2 separate regions of the Homo sapiens genome follow, and region 1 is linked to region 2. Evidence: promoter capture Hi-C in human tissues and cell types (Jung and others, 2019). All regions are on one chromosome and are shown on one strand. Each heading gives the region's core, a stretch centred on a gene start or on the middle of the fragment in contact. The rest is flanking DNA. Distances are from core to core; before and after follow the strand shown.

Region 1 (7,532 bases), core at 4,049-6,548, 240 kb before region 2:
GTGTCGCACTGTTGCCAGGTTAGAGTGCAGTGGCACAATCTTGGCTCACTGCAGCCTTGACTGCCCGGGGTAAAGTGATCCTTTCACCTCAGCCTCCCAAGTAGCTGGAACCGGCACACACCACCAAGCCTGGCTAATTTTTTGAATTATTTGTAGAGATGGGGTTTTACTATGTTTCCCAGGCTGGTCTTGAACTCCTGGACAAAAGTGATCCTCCCACCTTGGTCTCCCAAAGTGTTGGGATGAGCCACTGTGCCCAACTACCATATCCCATATTACCTTTTAAATATCTCTTTTTTTTTTTTTTAAAGACAGGGCTTTGCTTTGTTACCCAGGCTGCAGTGCAGTGGTGCGATCTCGGCTCACTGTAGCCTTGACTTCCTGGGCTCAAGTGATCCTCCCACTTAAACCCCCCAAATAGCTGGGACTACAGGTGTGTGCCACCATGCCTGGCTAATTTTTTGTATTTTTGGTAGAGACAGGGTTTCTCCATATTGCCCAGGCCGGTCTTGAACTCTGGAACTCAAGCAGTCCACCCGCCTTGGCCTCCCAGTGGGCTGGCATTACAAGTGTGTTAAATATCTTTTGAATCTACCAGCTGTCTGTATCTTCACTGCTACCTCTCTGCCTTTTCTGTGGATTACTTAAAATAGCCTGCTTATTGGTCTCTACACACACACACACACAAACACACACACACACACATTTTTTTTGAGATGGAGTCTTACTCTGTCACCCAGGCTGGTGTGCAGTGGCATGATCTTGGCTCACTGCAACCTCCTCCCCTTTGGTTCAAACGATTTTCTTGCATCAGCTTCCTGAGTAGCTGGAACTACAGGCCTGCACTACTACACCTGGCTAATTTTTGTATTTTTAGTAGAGGTGGGGTTTTACCATGTTGGCCAGGCTGGTCTCGACCTCCTGACCTCAGGTGATCCACCTGCCTCGGCCTCCCAAAGTGTTGGGATTACAGGCGTGAGCCACCGCACCCGGCCACAAATGTTTTCATTTCATCCACCTTGATAGCATTCTGAAACACCTATTAAAGATAAAATTCTCCTGGAATATGACCAAATCAGGCTCTAGTGACATTTTTTCCTAAGAAACATGATTTTAGAAAGTTGTGGCTCAGTTTCCTGGAAAAAAAAAAAAAAAATCAGTGTAACAGGTCTTGGTGTGAATCTGCTGTTGCTAAGGTGTGTAAAAGTTCCTTGCATGATTCTGACTTGATAATCTTTTGATTTCTCTATATTCTAAGCACTCATTATGTGTCAAGTGACTTGCATGTTAAATTAGGTATTGGGTCTGATAAATCCTAATTAATAGGTAATATTTACTCGGAAGGCTGGGTGTGGTGGCTCATACCTGTAATCCCAGCACTTCGGGAGGCCAAGATGGGAGGATTGCTTGAGCCCATGAGTTGGAGACCACCCAGCTTGGGCAACATGGTGAGACCCTGTTTCTACAACAAAAAATAAAAATAAAAAAAATAAATTAGCCAGGCGTGGTAGTGAGTGCTTGTAGTCTCAGCTACTTGGTAGGTTGAGGCAGGAGTATTGCTGGAGCCCAGAAGTTCAAGGTTACAGTGAGCTATGATTGTGCCAATGTAATTCCACCTGGGCGACAGAGCAATATCCTGTGTCAAAAAAAAAAAAAATACTAAGATTTCTTTCTTGGGAATAATTTCTGTAGGCTTATTTGGATCAAGAAAGAAATTACCTGGCCAAACTAATTTATAATCAGAGCCTAATATTGTCAACACCTGTCCATGGGTTATGTCTCATGCTGTGGTTCTTAGCCTCAGGTGCACAGGAGAATCATCTGGGGAACTTCTGAAAATCCCAGGGCTTGGGTGCACCCCAGACCGATTAAATCAGAGTCTGTGGGAGCAGGACCCAGGTATCACTATTTGAAGCCCCCCAGGTGATTCCAGTGTATAGCCAAGACTGAGAACCACTTGACCTGGTAGGAATTTCCTCTTATGTATTCAACCAAGGAGTCACCTTGTCACTGCTTATTTGTATTATTGTAGCAAATATTTTATTTATTTTATTATTTTGAGACGGATTCTCACTCTGTTACTCGGGCTGGAGTGCAGTGGCACGATCTGGGCTCACTGCAATCTTTACCTCCCTGGTTTAAGTGATTCTCCTGCTTCGGCCTCCCGAGTAGCTGGGACTACAGGCATGCGCCACCACACCTGGCTAATTTTTTTGTGTTTTTGTTAGAGACGGGGTTTTGCCATGTTGGTCAGGCTGGTCTTGAACTCATGACCTCAGGTGATCTGCCTGCCTCGCCTCCCAAAGTGCTGGGATTACAGGCATGAACCACTGTGTCTGGCCTATAGTGAGTATTTTAGATTTTCCATGTAAACCTCTTTTCTGTCCAGTTATACTTTTAACTGAAAAGGTGCCAGTATAGGTTTAATGAGGATAGCATATGTCATGCCGCACACCTGTTGACTTTGATGGGGATGGCACCATGTTAGAGAGGCTGGGGAAGAGACCCAGAGCCAGCAAATGAGACAGAGGATTTATTGAGGGGACTTGCATAAAGGGTGGTGCTGTGGTGGTGGGCTGGACAGAACTTCAACTGCTTGGAAAAAGCATACAGTTTATATAACATTTCCACTTAGCACCCTGCCCCTAGCAGCCATCACCTGGCAACCTTTATTTAATCCAAAACAAAGGGCCTCAATCCTCTGTATGGCCTGGGTTCCATAAACGGGTCAGGGATTCAGATGTTCCTCATAGATAAAGGAATGAATCTCTGGGTTGGAATGAATCCAAGCCGGATTCCGTAGTTTGGAACTCTGAACACATAATTCCTTTTAGATCATAGGGTGATTCTCAGGTAGGCTTAAGTTATTACTGTCAGGGTCCTTCTCCCGGTATGCTTAATCTACTAACGTTAGGGGCATCTGCCCTACAGCATGGACTGTATGGAGCTCTGTGCCACTTATTGGGAAGCTCTTTCATATATGATCACATTTAATCCTTACGACAACCTTATGACAAATAGGTATTATTCATTCCATTTTAATTTAATTTAATGTTTATTTTTTTTTGAGACGGGAGTTTCGCTCTTGTTGCCCAGGCTGGAGTGCAATGGCATGATCTCGGCTCACCACAACCTCTGCCTCCCAGGTTCAAGAGATTATCCTGCCTCAGCCTCCCGAGTAGCTGGGATTATAGGCATGCGCCACCATGCCCGGCTAATTTTGTATTTTTAGTAGAGGTGGGGTTTCTCCATGTTGGTTAGGCTGGTTTCCAACTCCTGACCTCAGGTGATCCACCCGCCTCAGCCTTCCAAAGCACAGGGATTACAGGCGTGAGCCACCATGCCTGGCCTCTTTTTTTTTTTGTTTTTGAGACAGAGTCTCGCTCTGTCACCCAGGCTGGAGTGGAATGGCACAATCTCAGCTCACTGCAACCTCTGCCTCCTGGGTCCAAGTGATTCTCCCGCCTCAGCCTCCCGAGTAACTGGCATTACAGGCATCTGCCACCATGCCTGGGTAATTTTTGTATTTTTAGTAGAGATGGTGTTTCACCACGTTGGCCAGGCTGGTCTTGAACTCCTGACCTCAGGTGATCCACCCACCTTGGCCTCCCTGGGATTACAGGCGTGAGACACCACCCCCAGCCAAATTTAATTTAATTTTATTTAGTTATTTTTTTGAGACGGAGTCTCCCTCTGTCGCCCAGGCTGGAATGCAGTGGTGCGATCTCTGCTTACTGCAACCCCTGTCTCCCAGGTTCAAGCAATTCTCCTGCTCAGCCTTCCAAGTAGCTGGGATTACAGGCGCCCGCCACCACACCCTGCTATTTTTTTTTTTTTTTTTTGAGATGGAGTTTCACTCTTGTCACCCAGGCTGGAGTGCAGTGGTGTGATCTTGGCTCACTGCAACCTCTGCCTCCCGAGTTCAAGCAATCTCCTGCCTCAGCCTCCCGAGTAGTTGGGATTACAGGTACCTGTCACCACGCCTGGCTAATTTTTGTATTTTTAGTGGAGATGGGGTTTTACCATGTTGGCCAGGCTGGCCTCGATCTCCTCACCTCAGGTGATCCCCCCCACCTCGGCCTCGCAAAGTGCTGGGATTACAGGTGTGAGCCACCGCACCCGGCATTGAGCCACCTTGCCTGGCTTTGCTAATTTTTGTATTTTTGGTAGAGACAGGGTTTCGCCATGTTGGCCAGGCTGGTCTTGAACTCCTGACCTCAAGTGATTTGCCCGCCTCTGCCTCCCAAATTATGGGATTACAGGCATGAGCCACTGCACCTGGCCTATTTTTATTTTTTTAGAGACAGGATCTCACTTTGTCACCCAGGCCAGAGTGCCACTGTGTGATCATAGCTCACCATAGCCTTGAACTCCTGGGCTTAAGGGATCCTTCTGCGTCAGCCTCTCACTTCATTTTGATAAGTGAAGAAGTAGGCTTACAGTGGTTATATGAATTCCAAGGTTTGTTTGATTCTAAAGCCTTTTAAACCTCAACCACTTTGCTTTCTAAGGTGCTGAAGCCTAGATTATTAATAGCACTTTGAACCACTGCTTTTTGTGATAGGCTTGTTCACTAGCCACATAGTAACAAACTGGAGCCTGACAGAAAGCACTCCTAATTGGTAAGGTGGGAAAACAAAGACCTCACAGAGTTTGGTGCCCTACAATCTCTATCCCAACACACAGGAAAACCACTTGGAAATTACAGACTTCCAATCTTCCTCTAAACATCTTATTTTTAAAAACTGGCTTACTATAATAGATCTTAAGGGAAGTAATTGGGCTTTCTTATCCCACGCAAAAACTAACGAATAGTTTTAGACATAGTCATCCGTAGAATTGGGTACTGTAATTGAAGTCATAGAGGTTAAAATAACGTTGATGACAAGGAGTTCTTAACTTGATAGCCCTGTGATGGCCTCTTAGTGCTTTATAGACTCTGAAACTTCTCTCTTGGGATTCGGTAGTCTCATTCACTTGAACACATCAAACGACTGTGGGTTCCAGAAGATAACTTTGGATTGTCAGAATATTTATACTTGGAAGTCCAGGCAAGTAATGTAAATGAGTCAATAAGTGATTTAAGTGGGAGTGATGGGGATTGTGAGCTCATGTCCCGTCTTCATGGGGTAGTCGAGAGTTGGCTGTAGCTCGCTGTTGCCATGAGTCCTCAGATATTCTAATTTTTCTATTGAAAAAAATTGAAAAAAAAATTTATTTTTTGAGGCAGAGTCTCGTTCTTGTCGCCCAGGCTGGAGTATAGTGGTGCGATCTCAGCTTACTGCAACCTCCACCTCCCGGGTTCAAGTGATTCTCCTGCCTTAGCCTCCCAAGTAGCTGGGATTACAGGCACCCTGCTGTCACACCCAGTTAATTTTTGTATTTTTGTAGAGATGGGGTTTTGCCATGTTGGCCAGGCTGGTCTCGAACTCTTGACCTCAGGCAATCTGCCCACCTCAGCCTCCTGGAGTGCTGGGATTACAGGCGTGAGCCACTGCCGCCAGCCTAAAATATTTTTTTAGAGACGGGGTCTTACTCTGTTGCCCAGGCTGGTCTCAAACTCCTGGTCTCAAGCAGTTCTCCCACCTCAGTCTTTTGAGTAGCAGGGATTACAGGTGTGAGCCACTGCACCTGCTGGCCAGCTTTTCTTTCACTTTATTGCAGACCCAGATTTTAAATCTCATTTTGAGAAGCAAACGGGTGTTGGGCATGGTTTTTCTATCTCTGCATTGAATTGGCTATAGGGCCAAAAACTCATCTTTGCCAATGACTTTACTGCAGCATGTTCTAAAGCTAGATGACTTGTAATTTCTTCCGCAAATATTGAGCTTTTACTGAACTACTTTTCTGTAAGGGAGTATCTCTTGTCACAAAGGATTTAAACATAATGAGGTTCTTTATTTTGGTACATTTTGACTTAATCTTCTTTTAATTACTTTATGTTACAGGCATATAGTTGGAAAGAGAGGGGACACTAGGAAGAAAATAGAAATGGAGACCAAAACTTCTATTAGCATTCCTAAACCTGGACAAGACGGGGAAATTGGTGAGACTCAGTAGATATAAGTTACATTTGAAGTCACTTTTGCATGTTTATGGAATAATGTAACCAACTGCAGTGTTTAGTAACTATGTTTTCTGTGGGGTTCTAGCTATGGGCTTTTTCTTTTCTTTTTTTTTTTTTTTGAGACGGAGTTTTGCCCTTGTTACCCAGGCTAGAGTGCAGTGGTGTGATCTCGGCTCACTGCAACCTCCGCCTCCCGGAATCAAGCGATTCTCCTGCCTCAACCTCCCTAGTAGCTGGGATTACAGGCATGTGCCACCACGCCTGGCTAATTTTGTATTTTTAGTGGAGGCGGGGTTTCTCCATGTTGGTCAGGCTGGTCTCGAACTCCTGACCTCAGGTGATCCTCCCCTCTCGGCCTCCCAAAGTGTTGGGATTATAGACGTGAGCCACCGTGCCCGGCCAGCTATGGGCGTCTTTATGGTTTATCAGTACCAGTCTCCCAAATGAGGAAAGATGGAATTATATAACCTTATCTTGATTGAGTACCTGGGCCTTAATTTTATACTTTACCATACATTGATGGAATAAAGCTTCCAGATTTCACTGTGTATTAGGAGATTTCTTTTCATGCTTTGGTAACTTGAAATGGATTTGTGAATTGTTTCCAATTAGAATTAGAGAAAATCAATGAGATCAGTGAATATAAAATAAAGTTCAGCCTTTTCCATTGTGCTCTCAATTTTTTACCCTTGATTTTGTAGACTAGGAAGGAAATTATAAGAGTAATGATTAAAATAATATAACTTGACTCAAATAACTGTTCTGATAAGGAAAAATAGTTTAGCAGTATAAATCAAGTTAGAAAGTGTCTGTACCAAGCCTCAGTGTAAACCAAGGGCATAGGCTTTTGTTGTATGTACAATGGCTTTGAGTGAGGGGCATTGTTAGGACAAAACTGTAAACTCATTCTGGAAGGATGGAATTTTTTTTTTTTTTTTGAGACAGAGTCTTGCTGTGTTACCCAGGCTGGAGTGCTGAGGTGCAATCTCAGCTCACTGCAATCTCCGCTACCCAGGTTCAAGCGATTCTCCTGCCTCAGCCTCCCGAGTAGCTGGGACTACAGGTGTGTGCCACCAAACCCAGCTAATTTTTGTATTTTTTGGTAGAGACAGGGTTTCGCCATGTTGGCCAGGCTGGTCTCAAACTTCTGGCCTCAAGTGATCCACCCACCTTGGCCTTCTAAAGTGCTGGGATTACAGGCGTGAGCACCATGTCTGGCCGATGGAACTTTTTTAAAGTCAAAGAGTGCAGCAACCTCCAATAATTCATTAACCCATTTTCTTTTTCTTTTTTCATTTAAAAATTTTTATTTATTTTTTATCCAGACAGGATTTCACCATGTTGCCCAGGCTGATCTTGAATTTTTGGTTTGAAGTGATCTGCCTGCCTCAGCCTTCCAAGGTGCTGGAATTACAGGCATGAGACACCATGCCCGGCCTTTTAGTCCTTTATTTTATTTTATTTT
Region 2 (7,631 bases), core at 2,119-4,618:
TGTGGAAAGCAGTTTGGAGAGTTCTCAAAGAACTCAAAGTAGGATTACCATTCTACCAAGCAATCCCATTATTGGGTACATACCCAAAATAATATAAATTGTTCTACCATAAAGATACATGCACACGTATGTTTATCATAGCACTAGTCACAATAGCAAAAACATGAAATCAACCTAAATGCCCATCAACGGTAGACCAGATAAAGAAATGTGGTACATATATACCATGAAATACTATGTAGCCATAAAAGAGAATGAGATCATGTCCTTTGCAGCAACATGGATGGAGTTAGCGGCTATTATCCTAAGCAAACTAACACAGGAACAGAAAATCAAGTGCCCCATGCTCTCACTTAGAAGTGGGAGCTAAACATTGGGTACATCTGAACGCAAAGAAGGGAACAACAGACACCAGGACCTACTTGAGGGTGGAGACAGTGGGGAGGGTGAGGATCAAAAACCACCCATCTCGGGCCTGTGCAGTGTGTCAGACCTGTAATCCCAGCACTTTGGGAGGTGGAGGCAGGCAGATCGCTAGAGCTCCAGAGTTTGAGACCAGCCTGGGCAACATGGTAAAACCCTGTCTCTACAAAAAATACAAAAAAATTAGTCAGGCATGGTGGTGCCAGCTACTCGGGAGGCTGGGGCAGGAGGATCACCTGAGTCCAGGAGGTCGAGGCTATGGTGAGTGGCAGTGATCGTGCCACTGCACTCCTGCCTGAGCAATAGAGACCCTGTCTCAAACAAACCCAACAACTACCTATTGGGTACTATGCTTACTACCTGGATGATGAAATAATCTGTACACCAAACCCCCATGGCATACAATTTACCTATGTAACAAACCTGTATACGTACCTCTGAACCTAACATAAAGTTTAAAAAAACCAAATACACAAACACTGGCTTTGTCTCTCACTACCTGTGTGACATTGAAAAAGTTACTTAACTTTTCTGGTCCTCAGTTTCCTAATCTGCAAAATGGAGATGAAATGCTAACCTCATAGGGATATAATGATTTAATTAGAAAATGTATACAGAACTCTCGATTCACAGAGGGCATAATGAAGGTGGAAAGGTGATATAGGGAAGGAACTGGCTGCAGGGTTCCACCTGAAATTGGGGGTGCCCAAGCCCAGATCACCTCCTCTTTCATCTGAGGCCAGTCCTTGGTGCCGCCCACATGCCTTGCTAATTTCAGCATTTAGAAGTTTGAAATGCACACTGAACCTAGTCAGAGCTCTTCACAAGGGGGCAGGGGTGGGGAATGACACATTTCTTTTGGATGACATGCCCAGGCCACCCCCACATCTTTGTGCACTCTCAATCCCAAGACTACTGGCAATCCAGTTCCAGGAACACGAATGTTTCTGCTCCTCTGGGAAACTCATGCAAGCTGGCACAGGAGAACCCACAGCAATACTCAGTACAGGGACTGTGACCACTGCTCTACCTGCTGCCACCACAGAGCCAAGCCACTGCTGCAGAACACAGCTCCTAGACCCTTCATGAGACCCATCTCCAGCCAGGCCATCAGGAGCCAGGAAGAAAAACGGCTGCCCCCAAATTCTACATGTTCCCATGTTCCTCCTACCCCCAGCACATGCCCAGCAGCACGGCCCATCTCTTTCTCCACTTACCCACCCCTCTTCTCCAGCAGCCAGGAGATGGGAGGGTTGATGGAACCAACCCCTCTCTCTGCTGCAGATCTAAAGTTATTCTTCAATTGAGACCCCACAGAATCTGCCAAACAGCCTGCCATCTACCAAAACCCACATCAACCCCATCTTAGCCAGATACAGAAATGAAGCTTTTCCTGCTGCCCTCTTAGAGGGGCAGAGGCCAATGATGAGCTCCAGTCTCCCAAGGCCAGCCCACGGGACACAGTGGAACACACAGTGCCTGGGCCACTGGCCCAAGCAGATCAGGCAGGGCTCCTAGGAGCTACTCAGGCCCCCTTCTCTGCTGGAAAATCAATTTCAACCCAGCAGAGGCCCACTGGCCTTGCCGCACAGTGAGTCCATAATGAATGATAATTACCGGTGTCATTATTCATCAAGCAAGTACTGACTGAGTGCCCACTGTGCCAGGCACTATGCTAGGCCCAGGACAATCCCCCGTACATCCTGGGGCCCAGCAACACCACGCATCAGAAACCAAACACAACTTCAGGTGCAAGGAAAATAATGAAGGCGTCAGGCCTGCCTTGGTTTCTCCCTAACCTTTTAGGCTTAAATCCCCCCACCTCCCCTTACCCCGTCCACACCCAGGACTGGAATCTGCTCACCCGGTTCCCTTGGAAGTCCCTGGAGGAAGCACATCCGCTGGGGGGAAGGGTCCCTGCTTCCCTGGAAGACTGTCACGGCCACTACCCTTCTGTCTAGCGCAGCAACGGCCTGCCAGCCTCTTCCACGCTGCTCACAGACCCTGGCACGCCGGCTCTGAGTTTATGAATCACTCCCTCCTCTCTCCGGGCCTCGCCTCCGGAAGGGCTTCGCACACTCACACATCACCCAGACACCGAGTTTCCACACCAAATTCGCTCCTGCAGAACTCCGAGAACCGACTGCAACATCTGCTCCCCTTGGTCTCGGGGTTCTGGCCACAAGTTTTCAAAACCCAGGCAGCCTCTCTCCTGCCCGCTGCGCTTTGGGGGCTCCCTCTCCTTGGGGGCTGCGGGGGCAGCAGACAAAGGCCGTGGATGTGACGGAGGGGTGTGAGGACGTGCCTGCTGTAGAGGCCAAATCCCCCGCGCTCCCAGGAATGTGCATTTCGGTGTGTGGCATGTGCCTGGCCGGTGTGGGTGTGCGCAGATCAGCCTGCGCCGTGTGCGGGGTATGAGTGGCGATGAGCTGTGTGTACCTGGCAGGTGTGATCCGGTTGCAGCGGGTTGTGGGTGCCTGCCTGGGCTTTTCCCCGAGCTGGGAACTCCACCTCCCACCGTCCGCTTCGCCCCCTTCTCCCTCCAAAGTCTGGCGCGCGCGCCTGGACGCGGAAGGCGGGGGCTCCCGGCTGGGCGGCCTCCCCCGGGCTGGGCGGCGGTTCCAGGACGCCGGCGCCCCACTTACCCCGGCCGCCGAGACTCCACCGGCGGCCCCGACCCTCCGCGGCTGGGGTCCGGCGCGGGCAGCATCCGCTCGCAACTTCGCTTTCCTCCTGGAAGATCCCGGCAGAAGCGGTTCCGCGGCCCCGGCGCCCGCGCGGCCCGAGCTGTGCGTCTTCTCCGGGGCGGGCCGGAGGGATGGAGGCGCTGCGGGGCCGGTCGGCACGCTGGAAGGGAAGCGGCGCCAGGCGGGCGCCGTCCTGCGCAGCGAGCCTGCGAGAGGTCCTGCCTGGCGCCCTCCCCGCTCAGGCCCGAGCCGGCTAGCGGCGGCGGATTCCTGAACCGCGTCCAAGGCGTCCGGGAGCCCTTCTCCTCCTCCTCCTCCTCTTCCTCACCCCACCCAGCTCCCACCCCTGCGCGCCCGGCAACTTGGGAACCGTTGGCGAAGTTGGCGCTGCTCGGGCCGCGAGCCGGCCGGGCCTCTGGGGGAGGAAGGGGAGGAGAAGGAGGAGCTGGCGGGAGAGGAGAGGAGGGGAGAGAGGGGAGAGAGGGGAGCCGCCCCCGGGGAGCCGCTGTCTCCAGGACCCCTCTGCGGGCCTTTGTTCCGGGCGCTGCCCCTCGGCCCTCCAGTCCCCGGGGACTCGCTTGGGGCCGCTCGGGTATCCACGCTCTCCTGGCGAGGCTGGTGGGTGGAGGCTGCTTGGAGAACCCCCTTGGCTTCTCCGTGCCGGAGCGCCCGGGGCCGTTACGGCCGCCCCCTCCCCCGACCTTTGCCAGGGAGACCCTCTGGCTGCACGGGTTCCCCATCATCTCTGCCCGGAGAGGATCTTCCTGCTCCCCCCTGGGGCAAGTGGGCTGGAGGACGGTTTCCCTGGTTCCAAAGAACAGAGCACCGTCTCCCTGGGCGGCAGCAGGTCCCACATCCGCCCTCCTGCACTTTCCTGCGCCGCCAGCCAGTCCAAGGCTCCCCTAATTCAAGAACTGGGAAACGGGAGGGACAGAGGGTCTTCCCGGCCCGCCAGGGCTGCCTGGCATTATCTTCGGACCCTCCCAGGCAGCTGGGTCTCCGGCCGGGCTGCCAGGCAAGTGGGGTCCCAGTCGCCTCCCGTGCATGGCGTGGTCGGCTGGGCAGCACCGGCTGCGGGGTGCAAAGGCCAGCTTCTCGAGGGATGAGGTAAAGGGCTCAGAACTGGAACACAAACCGAACCTCCCTGTTCCTTTCCGAATCCTGGTGATGGCCCTGTCCCCGAGAAGGCGAGAACGTCTTGGATTCCACTTGCTGGGCATTCCTCCTGGGACTTCCAGTACGTAACGTCATGAGCTAATTCAGGCCTAAGACAGCACTCCTGACATTTAATGGGATAGTATGGGGTTTAGACAATAAGTTATTTCCTGTACAGGAGAAGTAGGAAAATCCAAAAAAGCTAAAACCTGATTATCTACACTTGGCCTCCCTCTGCCATTCTCAGCATTTACAGATGGACAGCAAATAGAGAACCAGATAGAACTAATCCTGACCCTGTTAGGGACAAGTTGCCCCAGGAACCCCCCGCCCCACACACAATGCAGCTGACCCTTACCCTGAATACTCCGAAGCTGCATTCCTGGACCCTTATCTAGGTGCTACAGCAAGGTCACCAGACTTGCTTACAGCCCAACAGGCAGCATGGGGAAGGTCACGAGAAATGTGGATAAACTTAAGTTACACCCTCTTCTAAATTCCTATATTGTAAGCGGTCACGAGATGATATGTGGTAAAGTTAACCGACAACCCCAGGGTCTCTCTCCCCCATATGAACCCCTCATTTTATAAGCTCCAGGGCTGCCTCCTCTGACTGTGGTGGAGCAGCCCGGCAGGATAAACTTACTCGCCTAACTTTGGGTCTCTCTCTTGTCCTTTCTCTCAGCTAACGTTACATTTTGGTGCCGAAACCCAGGAAGGGGACAGGCTCTGGCTGCGTGTCCTTAGAGGTGTCTCTCTCTCTCTCCCTCTCCCCCCTCCCCTCTCTCTCTCCTATCACCCCTCACCCAAGGGCCTTGTCCAGAATAGAGGAGACCTGAAGGACACCTGACTCGGTGGCTGCCTCTATTCCAGACAAGGCCTGCAGGACAGGGGACACCCTCTCTCGCCATCCTTGTCATCTGCAGTCTCTTCTTCCTCTACCCCCCACCCTCCATTCACTATGGGAGCCTCTCAGTCTACCCATCCCAAGACCACCCGCCTTGGCTGTCTCCTCTGCAATCTCAAGGCTCTCAGCCTCCATTCAGAGGTCCGTTCTAAGAGACTTATCTTTTACTGCAATACCACTTGGCCTCAATACCAATTGGACAATGGCTCCCAATGGCCTGAAAATGGCACTTTTGATTTCAATATACTTAGAGACTTAGACGACTTTTGCCATCGCAGTGGGAAATGGTCTGAGATTCCTTATGTTCAGGCTTTCTTCACTCTCCGTAACCGCCCTTCCCTCTGCCAGTACTGCTCCACTTTCCAAATCCTACTCACCAGACTTGTCTCCCACCACCCCCGTCTCCCACCACCCCCGCAACAGCCCCAGCCGACAACTCCTCTTTCTTTGACCCCGCCAATTTTGCCCCTCCCTGACAGCATCTTGATCCTCCACCAGAGCATCATGATTCTTCACGGTATGTCCCTGCTCTGGCTCTACCCATCTGTCCCCCTCTCTCCAACCACCCCGCTTCTGACTCTGAGTCCTCTCCATCTCCACCCCTCACCCGCTCTTGGGCCCAACATACTCAGCAACCAGTTCCCTTGCTTCCTCTCTGGGAAGTAGCAGGAGCAAGGGGATCATCCGTGTCCATTTCCCTTTCTCCCTCTCCAATCTCTCACAGATTGAAAAACGTCTCAGGTCCTTCTCCTCCGATCCTGATACTTATATCAAAGAATTTAAATATCTTACCCAATCTTATGAACTCACTTGGCATGATCTCTACATTATCCTCTCTTCTATACTCTCCTTCCAGAAGAGAAGGAAAGAGTGTGGCTTGTAGCACAGGCACACACTGACGATCTTCATGGGCAAGATCCTGCTAAGCCCATAGGAGCCACTGCTGTTCCCCAGGAAGAGCCTTCCTGGGAGTACCAACCCACAGACCCCAGCTGGGCGTCTGTAACTATATGATTACTTGCCTCATTGCAGGCCTTAACAAAGCTGCCGGGTAATGGCCAGGCGCTATGGCTCACACCTGTAATCCCAAAACTTTGGGAGGTCGAGGTGGGCGGATCACGAGGTCAGGAAATCGAGACCATCCTGGCTAACACCGTGAAACCACGTCTCTGGACTCTTCAGAGGACTCTTCCCAGAGTCCTCTCTTCCTGCTGTAGCTCATGATAGATTTTCAGATGTTTGGTGGGCACTCATACAGGCACCTGATTGTTACCTGAGAGACACAAGCAAATCCTATTCCCCATATAATTATCCACCCTTTGATTAAATTTAAAGGGCTATGTCACTCTCATATGAGTGACATAGAAAGGGGAATGCCTTTGTTGTACTGCTTGCTGTAAAGAATGAAATAAAAGATTAAGTTGGTCATTAGTCACATTTTGAATTAAGGCACATTCAATATTTTGTGTGGCTTGCACTACATAGGCTGAATCAGAAACAGTGTTTATTGGCTGTTTAAAAGTTTTTAACACTGTTATCACAGCCATAAGTTCAGCATTTTGAGCAGAAGCAAAGTCAGTTTGAAAAACTTGTTGTTGAGGTCCCACAAATGAGGCCTTTCCATTACTAGATCCATCAGTAAAAACAGTAATGGCCCCTTCAATAGGGGCTTTTTGAGTAATGGAAGGCAATATCCATGATATTAATTTAAGAAATTGGAATATTTTGGATTTAGGATAATGATTACCAAGAATGCCAATAAAACCTGCCAAATTAATTTGCCATTCCTGGGAATTAATATAAGCTTGCTGAATTTGTTGTTTGTTTAATGGAAGTATAATTTGATTTGGATCATATCCCATTAACTTTGTTGTGCACAGCCTTGCACACTACATTAATACAGCAACTTGATCTAAGTACAGAGTAAGCGTTTTGGTTGTATTGTGAGGTACAAAAAGCCGCTCAACCAGATCATTCTGTTGAACAATAATTCCTGTACGTGAATGTTTAGTAGGAAAAACTAAAAACTGTAATGACTGCAATGGGTCAACTCGAGTCACTTGTGCCTGTGGAAATTTTTCTTCAATTAATTGAAGTTTCTCTAATGCCTCCTTGGACAGGGAGTGTTTACTGTTTAAGTTAGAATCACCTCGTAAGGTAGAAAAGAGGTGAGACATAACATAAGTAGGACTGCCTAAAGTGGGATGAATCCAATTAATGTCTCCTAATAATTTTTGAAAATCATTAGAGGTTTTAAATTATCTCTTCTAATTTGAATGTTTTGAGGCTTAATAGTACTTTGTTCTACTTTCATTCCTAAATACTGAAAGGGAGTAGAAGTTTGGATTTTATCAGGGGCTATGATTAACCTTGCTGCTGTTACAGCCTTTTCCTCCCTAGTTTCAGCTGCACATAAAATATCATCCATGTAATGGATAATATAACATTTATTGAATTGT

Evidence for each region. The method cuts DNA at HindIII sites, captures the fragments that hold promoters and counts their contacts. A contact is called where the count stands out against the background at its distance.
Region 1: a fragment that was not itself captured here is called in contact with the fragment with the promoter of CHST3 in region 2 in 1 of the 25 tissues and cell types used here (hippocampus).

What each region holds. Positions count from the first base shown.
Region 1 is chr10:72,201,941-72,209,472 of GRCh38, reverse strand. ASCC1 (activating signal cointegrator 1 complex subunit 1) reads left to right here. Exons shown (of 10, transcript NM_001198800.3): 4 at 5,949-6,046. Among named protein-coding and RNA genes, the nearest start is that of ANAPC16, 10 kb to the left of the region's middle. The HindIII fragment of the contact is 9,463 bases long and covers 567-7,532 here.
Region 2 is chr10:71,960,132-71,967,762 of GRCh38, reverse strand. It overlaps CHST3 (carbohydrate sulfotransferase 3), which reads right to left and starts at 3,368. Exons shown (of 3, transcript NM_004273.5): 1 at 3,069-3,368. The HindIII fragment of the contact is 9,967 bases long and covers 1-7,631 here.